2 separate regions of the Homo sapiens genome follow, and region 1 is linked to region 2. The links are contacts of gene promoters, found by promoter capture Hi-C in blood cells and fetal thymus (Javierre and others, 2016). All regions are on one chromosome and are shown on one strand. The core of a region is centred on a gene start or on the middle of the fragment in contact, and the rest is flanking DNA. Distances in the headings are between cores, read along the strand shown. Region 1 overlaps LOC105373883 (a long non-coding RNA gene). Region 2 holds the start of ATG9A (autophagy related 9A).

What was found. The method cuts DNA at HindIII sites, captures the fragments that hold promoters and counts their contacts. A CHiCAGO score of 5 or more calls a contact.
Region 1: a contact is called between a fragment that was not itself captured here and the fragment with the promoter of ATG9A in region 2, in 1 of 17 cell types (erythroblasts). The highest score is 5.1, in erythroblasts.

What each region holds. Positions count from the first base shown.
Region 1 is chr2:219,359,927-219,364,647 of GRCh38, reverse strand. It overlaps LOC105373883 (a long non-coding RNA gene), which reads left to right. Exons shown (of 2, transcript XR_923917.3): 2 at 1,840-2,146. Among named protein-coding and RNA genes, the nearest start is that of DNPEP, 26 kb to the left of the region's middle. RefSeq lists an enhancer at 2,036-2,085. The HindIII fragment of the contact is 2,100 bases long and covers 2,150-4,249 here.
Region 2 is chr2:219,227,206-219,231,324 of GRCh38, reverse strand. It overlaps ATG9A (autophagy related 9A), which reads left to right and starts at 1,689. Exons shown (of 16, transcript NM_001077198.3): 1 at 1,689-1,790; 2 at 2,840-2,891; 3 at 3,272-3,403; 4 at 3,512-3,555. The coding sequence starts at 3,301. It overlaps ANKZF1 (ankyrin repeat and zinc finger peptidyl tRNA hydrolase 1), which reads right to left and starts at 1,519. Exons shown (of 14, transcript NM_018089.3): 1 at 1,425-1,519; 2 at 920-1,097. The coding sequence starts at 1,067. RefSeq lists enhancers at 1,325-1,434, 1,105-1,652, 1,653-2,200, 2,201-2,749 and silencers at 1,585-1,714, 1,925-1,974. The HindIII fragment of the contact is 5,267 bases long and covers 1-4,119 here.

The sequences.
Region 1 (4,721 bases), core at 1,950-4,449, 130 kb before region 2:
TCCTGGGCGCAAGTAATGCTCCTGTCTCAGCCTCCCAAAGCACTGGGATTAGGGGTGTGAGCCACTGCGCCCAGCCTGCCAACAATCTTAAAACTAATTTTATTTACCCAAAAGACTTAACAAGGCCCATGTGTTCAGATTCCTGTCTGTGTCCCCATCTTTGGAGGAAGGACACCTTTCACATGGGGAAAGGATCAGGGAGATCCCTTCAGGAGAGAAGGATCAGGGAAGTCAGAGAGATTGTCCTGCACATGCTGTTTCTCAGATCCTTCCAGCTTAAAATATTCAACATGCCAGTGTGCCATGTTTCTGGGTGGCATGTCCTGAACCCTCTTATTGGATAGTATAAATGGCTATTCACTCTGAAAATCTGTTGAGCTGTATCTTTACATTCTGTCTACTTCTGTTCATATGTATTACCTTTCATAATCAAAAGGTAAAAATACTTTTTTTAAAAAAAAGCATAAAAGCTTCTAAACACAAAAGTTGGTGTCAGAAATATTCTAAATGGAAAGAGGAAAAGAGTGGCTCCTAAGATGACTGGATTATTAGAAGTAAAGAAATGCCCTCCCTTCTTGCCCAATAAACTCCAGAAGCTCCCAGAGTGGCCCTAGGCGAGAAGAGATGAGAGGGAGGGTCAGCCGTGCTCTCCAGGGAAATCCCCTTGTTTTCCCCAGGCCAGCCCCAAAGGGGCACTAGTCTACACTGAACTCTCAACTTCCAGGCAATAGAGACCACCCTTTCTCTGCTGCTTTATTTGACAGCTTAGGAAAGACTGAAATGTTCAAACAAAAATGAACAACAACAGAAAGCCTTGACAAAGGAAAGCCAGATGCAGAGGACCATGGATCCACATATCCTAAATGCAAGGGAGAGCCTGCTCTCCAGGCTCCAGAGCCTTCCACTCATGGGCTACCCCAGGAATAATAGGGACTCCTCCCTGAGTCTCCCCACTCCTGACTCCAGGCTTTCCTCCCACAGCAGGTGACATTCCTAAGTTTGTATGCATGTGCCAGCACACATTTATATATACAAGTGCAATATGTACATAGTAATGCACACACATATTCTCAAACCTACACACATACACCTCACACACATACATAAACGTAACATATATACACCTACACACACATAAACAGACACATGCGGACTTACACATGGACATCTATACAGAAACACACACATGTAAGCATACATGCACACACACAACACAGGTGCACATGCACATACAATGTTTGCAAACATATACAGCCACAGGCATAGACACACATATACACCTGGATACATATACAAACCCATCACACATGCATACATATGCTCATTCACATACTACAAATACATACAAAAAGGCATACACATATATGCACACATGCACAACATACAAACACAGAGACATGCATGTAGGCATAATACATGCATGCATACTCGTGCGCAAAAAACACACATGTGCAATACACAGATACATATACATAAATGCATGCATACACATATGCAGACAATACATAGATACATGTCACACAAACATATTGCTATATATCCATATATACATATGCAAAAACATACACATATATACACAAACACACACATCTTTATGTACACACCCACAAACACACACCCCACATACCCACACGCACATACTGCATGTGATAGCCATCCTACAAGATGACCTCCAGTGATCCTTACCTCTTGGAATTCATGCCTTTGTGTAGTCCCTCCCACAGTGTATCAGGGTTGGTCTCTGTGGCCAGTATAATATGGCAGAAATGATGGCATGGGACTTCCAAAGCTAGGTTTTAAAAACACTGTGGCTTTTGCCTGGTTCTCTCTCTCTCTCAGGTCACTCACTCCAGAGGAAGCCAGCTGCTGTGTCATGAGGCACTCAAGCAGCCATATGGAGAGGCTGATGTGGTAGGGAACTGAGACCTCCTGCCAACAGCCAGCATCGTCTTGCCAGGAGGGTGAGTCATCTTGAAAGTGGATCCTCTAGCCCCACGCAAGCCTTCAGAAGACTACAGCCAACCCTGAGTAACATCTTCACTGCAACTTCAAGAGAGACCCTGAACCAAAAATACCCAGCTAAGCCTCTCTCAGATTCCCAGTCCACAGAAACTGTGAAATAGATGTTTATAGTTTAAGCGACTAAGCTTTGGGGTAATTTGTCATGTAGCAATAAGCCATAGATATTCTTTGCTAAAACTGGATTTTTAAAAAAAGTAATAGACAATGAATACAAGTACACTACATGTACACATATACACATTGACACACACATCCCATCTACATACACAAATACATCTCCCACACATACAAACCTACATACGCACACACAAACACACATGCATACAGTACACATTGATTCATACAAACACATGCACACACATATAAACACATGGACACAACACCCATGCACAAACATATAAACACATGTATACACATATAAACACATGTACGCATGCGCAAGTCCCGAGAACCCACTTCTAGAGTCTTTGGGCTCTTCACCATCTAGATGCCCACCTGGGGCTCCCCATAGAGCTCTGACCCATCTCGGAGGAGCTGCCTCTTCTCTCTCTTTTTTTTTTTTTTTTTGAGATGGAGTTTTGCTCTGTCACCCAGGCTGGAATGCAGTGGCACAATCTCTGCTCACTGCAACCTCTGCCTCCCGGGTTCAAGCAATTCTTCTGCCTCAGCCTCCAGAGTAGCTGGGACTACAGGCACATGCCACCATGGCCAGCTAATTTTTGTACTTTTAGTAGAGACGGGGTTTCACCATGTTGGCCAGGCTGGTCTTGAACTCCTGACCTTGTGATCTACCCGCCTCGGCCTCCCAAAGTGCTGGGATTACAGGCGTGAGCCACCGTGCCTGGCCTGAGGAGCTGCCTCTTCTCTAGGAGATTCCCACCAGAGGTGATCCTGTCCTTGAGGGAAGACCTTGTTTCCCGACAAAGGGTGGTGGCCTGAGTCTTGCAGGCCTCAGTGCAATGATAGCACCATCCCCACTGGCTATCCAAGAAGAGGCACAGGCATGGTGGCCCACCCTCTCCCTATCAAGGTGGGCAGCCTTTGTTCCCTGGGGTCAGGTGGGCTGTCTCACACCTTCCCCCTGGTGAGCTGTAAGGCAGGTCTCCTGGATTCTGCTCCTGATTCTCTACCAGACCAGGCCTCTCTGCCCTTCTGGGTTTCAAGGTCTTTCACCTTGAAACCTTGGGGCATAGCCGAAATCTACAAACCCAGAGAGGCTGAAGCTGAAAGGAACTAGAATTCAACTCACAATGCATTTGTGCAACACGAGGCTGCTTTATATCCATCATCTCATTTCATTTTCACAGTCACCCTGATGAGCTGCCCATCTAACAGATAAGAGCACTGAGGCAGAGGTGTTTCATCTGGGGCCTCAGGACCCAAAATCTGTTTCATTTTGGAGCATCCAGGCTGAGCTAGGTCCTGAGCCAGACACTGAGGATGTGATAGCAAATCAAACAGACATGTCTTCTGTCCTCTTGAAATTTACACTCCAGTGGGGAGACGCAAATAAACAAGTAAACAAAGGAAGAAGTCCATCGGCCGCGGTGGCTCATATCTGTAATCCTAGAACTTTGGGAGGCCAAGGCAGGTAGATCACCTGAGGTCAAGAGTTCAAGACCAGCCTGGCCAACATGGTGAAACCTCATCTCTAATAAAAATACAAAAATTAGCTGGGTGTGGTGGCAGGCGCCTACAATCCCAGCTACTTGGGAGGCTGAGGCAAGAGAATTGCTTGAACCCAAGAGGCAGAGGTTGCAGTGAGCCAAGATCGTCATTGCGCTCCAACCTGGGCAACAGAGCAAAAACTCCATCTCAAAACAAACAAAACAAACAAACAACAACAACAACAACAACAAAAAACGAAGAAGTCATGGACAGTGGTAAGAGTCATGAAGGTAATGAAGTGACAATTATTCCTAGGGACCAGAAACTACTTGGTGGGGAGGGTTATACTAGAACAAAGAGATAACAATGGAGGGTGGGGAGAAGCAGAAATGGCCTTTGAGAAGGACTCAGGTGTTCAAAGAATGGAAAGGAGGCTGGGAACAGAGAGAGCAAGATGAGAGAAGGAAATGAGGCTGGAGAGGAAGGCAAGGCTAGATCACGTTGGGGCTCATAGGCCATGGTCGGGAATTTAGCGTTTATTCAAAAGTGTAAATGAGGTGATCCATTGGATGGTGTTAAGCAAGGGAATAACATGCTTTAATTTATATTTTGGAAAGCTTCTCCTGGTGCTTAAGAGATTACAGGGAGGCAAGAGTGGAACAACAAATATTCAACAAGAACGACTGAGCACCTACAGTACACCAGACACAATCCCAGACTCCTAGAACACACCCCAAGTCATTAGTTACTCCAGGCAACTAGATGAGATTCAATTTCTGTAACAGGTGAAAGACGATGGCCAGCTGGGCATGGTGGCTCACGCCTGTAATCCCAGCACTTTGTAAGACTGAGGCAGGAGGTTCACTTGACCCTGGAAGTTTGAAACCAGCCTAGGCAACATAAGATCTTGTCTCTATTAAACATTTACAAAAATAAAAATAAAAGAAAGATGATGGTGGTTTGAACAAGGGCAATGGCATTGGGTCTGGGAAAAATGTAAACTGTAAGAGAAAATTTTTGCAGGGAGAAACCTGAACAATGCATAGGAGGTGCCACTGACAGAGAGGGAGCATCAAAAAGAACAGTAATAG
Region 2 (4,119 bases), core at 440-2,939:
AAGCCTTGGGGTCGGTTAAACTTCTCCAACGTAGCCCTCTCCCGAGATCCAGCGTCTGCAAGTCCTCCCCACTGGCTGAGTTTGAGTCTTGTCTAATTTAAATTAGCCAAACAGATTGTTTAGGTGAATCCTAAAGAAAATAATTTCTGTTCAGTTTAAAATTATTTTTCACTGCACAAAAACTACTTCCCAAATGCTTTTTAAAGTTTACATTTCCAATTAGTGTACAGTTTGTCTAAGGAGAGGTGCAAGAAAAGATGTAGCCAAACTAAAGTTACACAAAACAGGACCGACACGGTGGCTCATGCCTGTAATCTCAGCACTTTGGGAGGCTGACCCAGGCGGATCACTTGAGGCCAGGAGTTTGAGACCAGCCTGGCCAACATGGTGAAACCCCGTCTCTACTAAAAATACAATAATTAGCCGGGCATGGTGGTGCGGGCCTGTAGTCCCAGCTACTCGGGAGGCTGAGGCAGGAGAATCACTTGAACCCGGGAGACGGAGATTGCAGTGGGTGGAGATCGTGCCACTGCACTTTAGCCTGGGCGACAGAGCGAGACTCTCAAAAAATAAAGCTATACGAAACAAATAATAAATTGTTTCATATTCAGCAAAAAGGAATAATTTGAGTGGGGCCTGGTTAAATGTGGAATACATCTGAGAATTTTATCTCTACAAAGTTTAAAGTGTTTTTGAAGGGAATGGTGTTAACGTGAGGAGATACATGCAATGGCAAAAAGACTTGTTTGAAAACAAGGGCTGTGCTGGACATTACCCAGAGATTAAGTGAATTTAATCAAGCAGAAAGATAAATCAATTGGCCTCCTAAGCTCGGGAATACCAATAAGAATGTGTTCCCTGAACGGGCAATACGCTGTAAGGAGCCCTGTCACGTTTCACACGAAACCTTCCAGGATACCTGAACAGGAAGTACGCGGAGCCCGGGCCAGAGCCTCCCCAGGCGCGTGGCTCACCAGGCTCAGGCCCTGAAAGACCGGAGCATCCGCGCTGAGGTCAAACAGGGAGATCGACGCAGGAGCCGGGGCTGCATCTGGAGCCGGCGACATGGCTGAGCAGAAATTATTTAGCAGCAGCTCCTGGAGTAGAAAGCGTGTAAGAAACAGGGCTCCTGCAAACGAGATCCTACTGCTGCGTCTCCTGCCTGCCTGACTTGGTTTCTCCTGCACCGCAAGACTTCTCGTCTCTCATCCTGCTACCAACTGTGAGATGAATACCTTGGCCCCCGTCCACTTTCTCAAACCCCCAGTCTCAGCCCACAAAAGAATGAAATAGGCATTCGGCTCCCAAATCGAGTCCAACAGAGTTAAAAATCACTGAGCTTGCCTAGCCGAACTTTCTTCGTTACCCATGCGACCAGCAACAACTGGCCCGCGTAAACTCGCCCACGCCCTTAGAAGACGCACCAAACGTCCCGGGAGCTGAGCGGCTCGCAAGTCCTCAGGTCGATTGCCGGATTTCTGCAACACAACAATCCCCGTCACTACGGAGCAGCGAAGAGGACAACCGGCGGCGTCCGCACCTGAGCCCCGCCCCACGTAGAGCACACTATTGGGCCGCTGACTGTCCAAGACCCGCCTCGAGACTTTAGTCCCGTCCCTGAAGCCGAGAATTGGCCGTTGTGTCTCCGCCCCCCGTGCTTATTGGCCAGCCTGGCTGCGGGTGACAGTGAGTGGCAGACACCCGGCCTAGCGCCGCGGGTCGCGCCGAGCCGAGCCGAGCCGAGCGGAGCCGGCGGAGCCTCTGGAATCACCCGGGTCGCTGTTCCTGAGGTAAGACGTGAGACCGGTTATTGGAATCCCAGGCCCCGTGTCTGGCCTTGCCCAGGGGTGCCTGCGGAGCCCTAAGTGAGCTCGCGGCGGGTAACGGAGGAAGGGGCGCCGCCGGCGGGGCGGGGGCGCGCAGCCGGAATGTTTTGATTGCTGGCGCGCGCAGACGGGGGCGCGCGCGGGCGCCGGGGCCGCGCGCGAGGTTGTCCGCTGTTGGGAGCTGCCAGCCCTTGGCCTGGGGCCGGGCGACCCTGGGGCGAGGTGGACTCCGGTCCACGGTCGCCGCGGCTGGGTGTGGGGAGGCAAGCCAACCCACCCGGGCTATCAGCTGTAAGGCTGACTCGATCCCTGCAACATCCGCAGGAACCCCTGAGCCCAGGCCCAGCCGGCCGGGGCTCCACGGGCCCTGGTCCACACTGACCCTGTGAGTGGTGACTTCCCTGAGGGGCAGGGCTCTCACTAGCCCAGGGAATCCCACCGGGGCCAGGCTGGGCCAAGATCCACGGCCCCCAGGGGCTGCACGGACAGGTGAGTACCACCTCGACCATGCCTGGCTTACAGGACCTAGGGAACCCACAAATTCACCTAGGATCGGGGGTCTACACTGACCCAGTCAAGGTTTCCCATCCAGAAGGTTTGCTCACCGGCTGGATCTTTGGTGCTAGGGAAGTAAGAGAAGGGGTTGACCAGAAAGGTCCTCTTCAGGAAAGACTCTTGAGGTTTTGTGGACCCTGAGAAGTATGTCATTTCTGAGGCTAAGGTAGGGCAATGGAGAAATAGTCCAGAGGCGCCCCTGGCCTCAGGTCTGTACCCACTCATTCTCCATGGGGTCCCTAAGTTACTTCTTGAGACCCTGGAGTTGGAAGAGTGGCCCGGTTTAGCACAGCCAGAGGAAGTGCTCGTAGTCCTGGGCTGGAAGGGTGCTTCTTCCCCACTGCAGCCTTCCTGCCCCATGCTTGGCCTCCTCTTGGTGGGGTGTGGATGGCTGGGAGGGTTGGGTTCCTTTTTATCCCCACTGCCCACTCTCTGGGGCCTGACATCTTCTCCTCCAGCAGCTGCAGAGCATCGAGGGCTGGAGAGGAGCACATACTGTCCATGGAGCTGGTAGGGCCATGTGCTTTTCTCAAACATTTGTTTGTGAAGTGCTTCCAAACTGTTAGTCTCTTGGGAGACCAGGGTTCCCAGGATGGGCGGGGGAGGGACTCTTCTGTCCGTTAAATAGAAGATGAAACAGCCCCCAACAAAGGGACAGATTCTGGCTTTGGGCCAGGAAAGCAGCAGTAGACACCCAGACTGGCCAGAGTTAAGGCTCCCCCAGCCCTGAGCTTACTGCCTTTCTTGTGTCACTACTCCTCTGCCTCTGAGCCAAGGAGGCTGGTAGTGGACAAAGCCCAAGGGTACTTTCTCCTTTTGGCAGTAGGCAGGGCAGCCCATGGGCAGCAGCTGGAACTGAATCAGGGTCTCTTCTTCCTCCTTATTGGCAGGTGGTCAAGGTGGACAGGGGGCGGTGGTGATGGCGCAGTTTGACACTGAATACCAGCGCCTAGAGGCCTCCTATAGTGATTCACCCCCAGGGGAGGAGGACCTGTTGGTGCACGTCGCCGAGGGGAGCAAGTGTGAGTTCTTGGATATGACAGCCATAGGGAGAGTTGATGGAAGAACATGGAGAGAGCAAGGGGCTTGTGTTCTCCCAGGGCTCTGACATCTCTGTTCCTATCCCACAGCACCTTGGCACCATATTGAAAACCTTGACCTCTTCTTCTCTCGAATATCCTTTGTGTTTCTGAGTTGGAGCTCTGGGACCTTTAATGTCTCTCTAAGCCGGGGCTCTGGTGGGAGGTGGGGGTAGGTTTGACTCTAATACCTGGAAACGGGAATGGAGCTCATCCTGAGGCTGAAAGAGGCTGGTGAAATCATCGTTAAGTAATGATAGCCCACATTTACCAAGATCTGTGTGCCTGTGTCCACTTTGTGGTGTTAATTTGTAGAAGCCTTTCTAAGGGTGAGCCTCCTTTTTTTTTTGTTTGAGATGGAGTCTGTCTCTGTTGCTGCTAGAGTCCAGGGGCGATCTCAACACACTGCAACCTCCACCTCCTGGGTTCAAGAGATTCTCCTGCCTCAGTCTCCCACGTAGCTGGGATTACAGGCACCTGCCACGATGCCCAGCTATTTTTTGTATTTTTCATAGAGACAGGGTTTCACCATGTGGCAAGGCTGGTCTCGAACTCCTGACCTCAAGTGATCCACCTGCCTTGCCCTCCCAAAGTGTTAGGATTACAGGCGTGAGCCACCACACCCAGCCGAGCCTCCTTTTTGATGGGATGTAAATAAT